2 separate regions of the Homo sapiens genome follow, and region 1 is linked to region 2. Evidence: promoter capture Hi-C in human tissues and cell types (Jung and others, 2019). All regions are on one chromosome and are shown on one strand. The core of a region is centred on a gene start or on the middle of the fragment in contact, and the rest is flanking DNA. Distances in the headings are between cores, read along the strand shown. Region 1 holds the start of CHI3L1 (chitinase 3 like 1). Region 2 holds the start of MYOG (myogenin).

Region 1 (3,831 bases), core at 1,299-3,798, 100 kb before region 2:
ATATAAAATTATAACTGAGTCAGGTGTTAAGGAGAGAGGTACAAAGTGCTCTGACAGCCCTATAGCGGGTTTTCTGTCACCTGGAGACTGCCTTTTCTGCAGACAAGGTGACTCCTGAGCTGCAATCTGAAGGATGAGGAAGAATAAAGCAGTCAAAGAAGAGCAGTGTTAGGCTGCAATTCTCCATCCGCAATTCTCCAACCGCAATTCTCCATGGGTTGCCTGCATTTCCTGCACAGCTTATGTGCAGAGGCACTGGCTTCTTTGTTCTAGGCAATCTTTTTAGTGATGTTTGTACAGCAAACAGCCTTGGAAGATAGAAATAGCGTCCCCCCTCCAGACCAAAAGGCAGATTTGTTTACTGTCCAGTAATAAAGATAATGTCTCCCTTATCTTGGGCTGGCCAAGGTGAGGAAGGCTTACTGCTCATCATGAAAGATTTGAGTTCCTTAAACTAGGGATTCCTCTGCTGTGATGTAACTCATTGCATTCATGGCATCTACCTGGGCTCCTCCAACACTGCCCTTGTGAGACCTGAGGGCTAAGGGGAACTGACCCTAACATGAAGTTCATGCTGCTTGCTGTACCATGGATAATAAAGTCCTTTGTCTCTGACCTAGGAGTCTCGTGTCTTCTGCCAACATCCACGAAACTGTAGTTATGTCATTAATTTGCAAGTAGCATAAAATCTCAGATCTTTCATCGTTATTTACAGGCAAGTGGATGTCATATATAAAGGCCCTGTGGCGGGAGTCAGTAGAGCAAATATAAGGATTTAAAAGAAGACATATAAGCATGAGTGGAATATAGGGAGGGTGGGGGTCATGGCCTGAGATAAGGCTGGGAGGTGGTGAGCCTATGAGACCCTTGGCCAATCCTGCTAACACAGGCCTGGGGGTATCTTGGCCATTTGTTGTTACAAAGCTGCCTTCAGGCAGAGCATGTGGAATTAATAAACTGAGCTTGAGGGAGCATAGGACAACAAGGCTTGGGCCAATCTAAGCCTATGAAATAATTTTTAACAAAGGGAGATAGTGAAAATAGGAGGTGTTTTCTTAACATCCTGTGCTCTGTGATGAAAAATTTTGCATCTGCATGCCACTTCATAATATCACTATTAGAAATTAGAAGTCCTCCTCTCAGTGCCCCAAATGAACCAGAAGAAGCTATCATTGACTGTCATTGCTGTCAATCATCTTGGGTACAAAAGGAGGCAGTCATCTTAAAAAGGAAAAGTGATGCCTCTTTAGTATTCACCGAGCGTGATTCTGGACAAGCCACTTTTTGTCCACCTCTCTTACAATGAAGGGAAGGCACTGGCTGAGTTTTAAAGGAAGAGAAAGGGAGAGAGGGAGAGAAGAGGGAGAGAGCAGAGAGACCTCACCGAGAGAGCTGCAAAACCAGCCTGGAAAAATTAGAGTATTACCTAACATTAGTGAAAAATAAAGGTACTTTCTTGAGAAGCCCTTGGACCCATTCTGCCTCTTGGAGTTCTGAACTTTTCACTCACTGCCTATTAATTAATGTTAAGCCTGCAAAGAATGGAGTTGTCCTGGATATTTGGCCAAAAAAAAAATGTATCCACAAACAGGGACGTAATCAGGCAGGGAGCCTCGTTAAGAAGTTTTGTTCTTGTCCTAGGAGTGATGAGAGATCACTGAAGGATTTAGAGAGGGGCTGTATCATCAGGCTTGGGTTCCAAAGCCTCACTGAGAGAGTTGGGGAGCTGACTGATGTCAGATGCTCGTGCAGCCGCCCCGTAGGGCCTGTATTTCCTCCATGGTGCCTCACTGCAGCACCGAGCTTGCAAAAGATCCTCTCTCTTTATGGGAATTTCAAAACAGAAGCAAAATAGCACCGGGGCTTAAAGCATTCTTGGGAATTTCCCTGTCTTTCCCTCTAAATAATCAGCATGTAAATTGCAAAAAAAAAAAAAAAAAAAAAAAAAAAGACACGGGCCCAAAAGGGAGCGCTCAGTTTCAGGCTCTTTGCTTTCCTTCCTCCCGAGGCTCTCTGGCCCTTACCCAGCCTGAAGACAGAAAGTGTGAGGGGGAGGGTAGGAAGGTAGGTCAAGCAGGGCAATGCTGAGCCTGGGAAGAAAACAACAGCCTTGTTTAGGGCACTGTGGCTTACGTAACTAAATTGTGCCCAGTTTCCACCTGGCCAGGGGCCTGGAGTGAATGCTGAAGATGCAAAGGTAGAGGCTGCCAGAAAAGCCAGGAAATTGCTGGCAAGAAAGGCCAGTGGTGGGGTGCAGGAGTGGGAGGAAGGCTGGGAAATGCGGCTGAGTCACATCTCCAGAAGCCCCCCATCATCACCCTAGTGGCTCTTCTGCTGGCAGGTGCCTCATGAAGACCTGACCCAAAGTTTTCAAAACTCTGCGGTTTCTCAACCCTCCTCTGGTAATCCATAGTACTCCCCCGCCTCCACTTGCCAGCCTCGTGATTCCTTCATTGACACATAGCTCAGTTCCCATAAAAGGGCTGGTTTGCCGCGTCGGGGAGTGGAGTGGGACAGGTATATAAAGGAAGTACAGGGCCTGGGGAAGAGGCCCTGTCTAGGTAGCTGGCACCAGGAGCCGTGGGCAAGGGAAGAGGCCACACCCTGCCCTGCTCTGCTGCAGCCAGAATGGGTGTGAAGGCGTCTCAAACAGGTATCTGGGCTAGCCAAGGTTAATCCATCAGAGTTGTGGGTTTTCAGGCCCAGACAGCCCGCAGAGCCATCTGCCTGCTGGGTGAGGGACTAAGGGAGTGGGCAGAGGGGGAGGAGAAGCAGAGCCAGGGGAGGGACTGAGGCTGCAACCAGGAGGTGGGGGTGGGGGAGGTGGGTCTCAGTTGCTTGGGGGAGGGAGCAGGGCGGAAGGGCAGGATGCACTTGCAGGGGTCTCATCCTGGATTTCTCTTCAGGCTTTGTGGTCCTGGTGCTGCTCCAGTGCTGTGAGTAATCCCTCCACCTCCACTTTTAAGTCCAGAGGCGTGGCGAGGGCACAGGGCAGGTGTGGAGGAGGTCTTAGCTCCAAGGGAACACTTTGCCAGGTTCTTCTGTGCTTCCAATGACTTCGAAATAGTCACGTTTGCTAAACTGGAGTGAGGAGTATATGGATGTTTATTTTGCTATACTCTTTGGTATATGTGAAAATTCTCAAAATAAGAAACTTTAAAAGGTCCTGGTTCAGTGAAGGCTTTGACTAACAGCCCCTGGGAGCCGCTAGTACAGTTGCCCAGTAGCTGCTTGGATGAGTGATGCCCACATTGTTTGCAGCAGGAGAAACAGAATTAGAGGCGAGGAAGGATTTCCTGGTCCATTGTGATATTGTGCCCCAGCCTGGGGGACATGCCGAGGGAGCACAGGACTGCCATTCCGGGTGGGTTACAAGTTAGAGGCACTCTCACCAGGAGGCAGAGAAAGGTGGGCCAGAGTCCCTCATGGATGAAGGACCTCACTGCAGGTCACTAAAGGTGCCAGCCTGAAAGCCAGGGCCATCTGTGACACAGGCTATCTTGGGCCTTCCCCTCCCACAAAGCCACTGCTTCCAGGAAGCCTGCTGTGCTGGCACCAAGTCCCATTTCATCCTTATTCCCCAGCTCCTACCCTTCCCCCACACAGTGCCTGTAGCGTATTCATCCCCTGCATTGGATCTTTTCTAAGCATTTTCAGAATAGGCCTTATTTTCACCAGTCAGGGAACTCCCCAGAGGCAGGGGGACCTGAACCAGCTCCTTTCATTTAAGAATTCTGACTTTGCTCACAATCTGCACCCCACTCCTCCCTACCCAACCCCACACCCCATTGGTGCTCAGCTCTGGGCTCAGCCTGAGGTCTCTTGCCGAAT
Region 2 (3,815 bases), core at 702-3,201:
TACAGTGCCCACCACCATGCCTGGCTAATTTTTGTATTTTTAGTAGAGACAGGGTTTCACCATCTTGGCCAGGCTGGTCTTGAACTCCTGACCTCGTGATCCACCCGCCTTGGCCTCCCAAAGTGCTAGGACTACAGGCATGAGCCACCACGCCCGGCCTATGCTGCTACTTTCTATCATGCTGGTAAGGCCAAGAACAGAATTAAGACCTCACTGCTCTCCCTCAACATGCTTAGGGTTCTTTTGTTGTCCAGCTATGTTCCCTCCTTCCCTCCATTTCCTGTCCCAAAAGGACATCAGAATTCTCCTGGCTCCCTGCTGTGAATAATGAGAGGAAGGAACACTGGTTCTTCACATGCCTCGCAGATCTCATGTTCCCTGTGAAGTCTCCCATGAGTCCCCAGCAGGGTTCCCCTTCCTCTTATTGTCCTTGCCACTGGCTTGAACTTGTCAGTTTGATCTGTCGTAGGATAAGGAGCAGGACATTAGTCTATGGGGAGGAAAAAACTGGGAACAAAGGATAAAAGATAGAGGGAGCAGATTGCAGCCCAAAGCTACACGTCAATGGAACGGGCTGTCTCCTGACGTGAGCAGAAGCTGAACAGTAGCCGCCTCGGAGGAGATTTGGGCATCAGGGGCTAGGTAGAAAGAGGTGATCACCGTTGTCTATCAGATGGTAAGTTCGAGGGCAGGGATCCTGTCTGGGGTGTCCCTATAATCCCCAGCCCTAAGACTGAGCCTTGTTCACTGCTAGTGTCTAAGGTCTGCCCACTGCATTGGAAGGAATTTGTCCTCTCAGACCCTGAGGCACCTACTGAGAGGTGACCATGGCCTGAGAGGCCTGAAGATTAAATAGTCCCTGCTCTACCTGACATTTGAGACCTGCATGATACGTGTAAAATTGATGGCTCAGACAGTAAGAGGCAGAACAACCAAGCCCGGTGGCCAAGGAGAGAGGAGATTTAAACTGAGTTTGAAGGGCTCTGTTTTTTCTACTTTTTCACCCCCGTCCACATTAATGAGCCAGGAAAATTCTGGTGTTGGAAAAAGAGTTGAGGAGGTAACATAGAAGGACAGATCAATGGTCCGGAGTGAGACAGGGAGGAGACAGGGAGCTTAGGACATCTTGACCTTGCCGCTCTGGGGAAGGTGGCAACGTGTAGGCTGTAAATTCTAATCTCTGCTCTGACCACGGCTGCTGTATTAAAGAGGAAATTTCTCTTTACCCCTGCCAAGAAAACCAAAACCCAAATAATTTCTCTTGCCTCAATTTACCCCCCCAGATGAGACCTAAGAGAACATACAGCTCAAAGCTGCTTGGGAACCCCAAAAGTGGAATCTGTTAGCTGCTCTGAGTCTTGATCCTTCTTATCCCTGGATACTGAGTGCCCATGAATGCCCAGAATCTGAAGCAGTCCCATTCTTTCCGGAGGGAAGTCTTTAAAAGAGTCTCATCGACTGATGTAGTGTGGTTAAGGTGCTGTCAGGAAGCAAGGAGATGGATAAGTTGGCTCTTAAGGCCCCTTCCAGCCTAAGCCTACCCTTCCTTGTTCCCTCCTCCCCCTATACCCACCAGCTTCTTCGGGACTGCAAGGAGACAGCAGGCAGGCCGCCCAGCTAGGAGTAATTGAAAGGAGCAGATGAGAGGGGAATGTGTCCTCCCCCAACGCCCCTGCCCCACAGGGGCTGCTGAGAAATGAAAACTAATCAAATTACACCCGACGGCCTCCCGACCCGTGCACAGGAGCCCGCCTGGGCCAGGGGCAGGCTGGCAGGGTGGGGTGGGGGCCATGCGGGAGAAAGAAGGGGAATCACATCTAATCCACTGTAAACGCCTTGATGTGCAGCAACAGCTTAGAGGGGGCTCAGGTTTCTGTGGCGTTGGCTATATTTATCTCTGGTTCCATGCCAGCGGGGAGGGTTTAAATGGCACCCAGCAGTTGGCGTGAGGGGCTGCTGGAGCTTGGGGGCTGGTGGCAGGAACAAGCCTTTTCCGACCCCATGGAGCTGTATGAGACATCCCCCTACTTCTACCAGGAACCCCGCTTCTATGATGGGGAAAACTACCTGCCTGTCCACCTCCAGGGCTTCGAACCACCAGGCTACGAGCGGACGGAGCTCACCCTGAGCCCCGAGGCCCCAGGGCCCCTTGAGGACAAGGGGCTGGGGACCCCCGAGCACTGTCCAGGCCAGTGCCTGCCGTGGGCGTGTAAGGTGTGTAAGAGGAAGTCGGTGTCCGTGGACCGGCGGCGGGCGGCCACACTGAGGGAGAAGCGCAGGCTCAAGAAGGTGAATGAGGCCTTCGAGGCCCTGAAGAGAAGCACCCTGCTCAACCCCAACCAGCGGCTGCCCAAGGTGGAGATCCTGCGCAGTGCCATCCAGTACATCGAGCGCCTCCAGGCCCTGCTCAGCTCCCTCAACCAGGAGGAGCGTGACCTCCGCTACCGGGGCGGGGGCGGGCCCCAGCCAGGGGTAAGTGGCCATCCCATCCCCCTGCCCCAAGGGGACGGGGCCAGAGGGAGGCACCTGGACAGCCTCAAGACCCCAAGAGGGGCTCAGAGGGTTGGTGCAGGTGCCAGACAGGGTCGAGGGGCTGCAGGAGCCCTTCCCTGGTCAGAGCTGGGCTATCCAGCTGACCTCCTGTGTCCTGTGTTCTTTCCAGACAAGATAAAGGCAGTGGGGAGGAAGTGCAGAAGGGGTTGGGGTGGGGAACATAGGACTGAAGAAAGATCAGGAGCAAGGCCACAGTCAGCCCAGGTGAGGGTGAGGATTAATCCCAGCGCCTGAGTCAGAGCCTAAAAGGCCAGGCCAAGTTCACCAGAGAAGACTGCTTTGCCCCCATCCTGGGTGTGGCTGAGCAGAGAGAAAACCCACTCAGTCTCATTGGAACTCCAGCAGGCCTGCACAGAGCGACCTTCACTGGGCCACAAAATCTGTCTCCATCACCCTTATCGCCAGAGTCAGGAGAACCAGGGACCCCTTTAAGCTGGTGTCCTGTGAGAGCAGAACCACCACCCAGGATGGAAGCCAGGAAGGCCTGGAAGCAGGGCCTCTGGGGTGTGAGAGGAGCTAGTTACAAAGATTCTGGGGTTGGGGATGGCCTGGGCTGGAAGGCCACAGCCTGTGGCCCACCCTCCAACCCCACCACAGGTACTTCTGCCCACTGGGACTAGGCAGAGAGAGACATCAAAGAATGGCTGTGCCCCGACCTTGGGCCTTCGCCCTGTCTTGCAGGTGCCCAGCGAATGCAGCTCTCACAGCGCCTCCTGCAGTCCAGAGTGGGGCAGTGCACTGGAGTTCAGCGCCAACCCAGGGGGTAAGTAAGGCCTGACTGGTAACCTTGGCTCCAATCCCTCAGTCCCTCCCTGGGCCAGGTTCTCCCCTCTTACCTTATTCCTTGCTCCGGTCCTCTTCCCTTGGGTCTCTCTAGGGACCTGCTGACTCCAAGGCCCAAAGGGTGGGCTGGGAGGTTCTGTGTGCCCCTGCAGTCTTGACCAGCAAAGGAGTGATAGTAGCTCCTGCAGCTCCCCAGCTGATGCCTGGTGGTTGACCTTCTCCACAGAGAGGACAATGTCCCTGCCCCAGGGGTCCCTGTGAAGTGCTGAGTCAGTGCTGCAAAACTGGGCCGAGCAAAGGGCAGGTCCAGTCTCTGGGGAGCTCCATCCTGCTCCAACTTGAGTGGCTGCTTCCAAACCCTACCTACTAGGGGAGTTCAGAAAAGAGGCGCATACACACACACACACACACACACACACACACACACACACTCACAGAGCATGGGGAAAGGCAGGGACTAGGGAGTAGAACTCCGGAGC

The links. Contacts are between HindIII fragments. The study calls those that stand out against the background at their distance.
Region 1: the fragment with the promoter of CHI3L1 here is called in contact with the fragment with the promoter of MYOG in region 2 in 3 of the 25 tissues and cell types used here (bladder, small bowel and stomach).

What each region holds. Positions count from the first base shown.
Region 1 is chr1:203,185,421-203,189,251 of GRCh38, reverse strand. It overlaps CHI3L1 (chitinase 3 like 1), which reads left to right and starts at 2,548. Exons shown (of 10, transcript NM_001276.4): 1 at 2,548-2,653; 2 at 2,907-2,936. The coding sequence starts at 2,629. The HindIII fragment of the contact is 13,862 bases long and covers 1-3,831 here.
Region 2 is chr1:203,084,148-203,087,962 of GRCh38, reverse strand. MYOG (myogenin) reads left to right here and starts at 1,951. Exons shown (of 3, transcript NM_002479.6): 1 at 1,951-2,472; 2 at 3,235-3,316. The coding sequence starts at 2,002. MYOPARR (myogenin promoter associated myogenic regulatory antisense long non coding RNA) reads right to left here. Exons shown (of 3, transcript NR_160550.1): 2 at 3,390-3,591; 3 at 1-1,480. RefSeq lists an enhancer at 115-632. The HindIII fragment of the contact is 26,934 bases long and covers 1-3,815 here.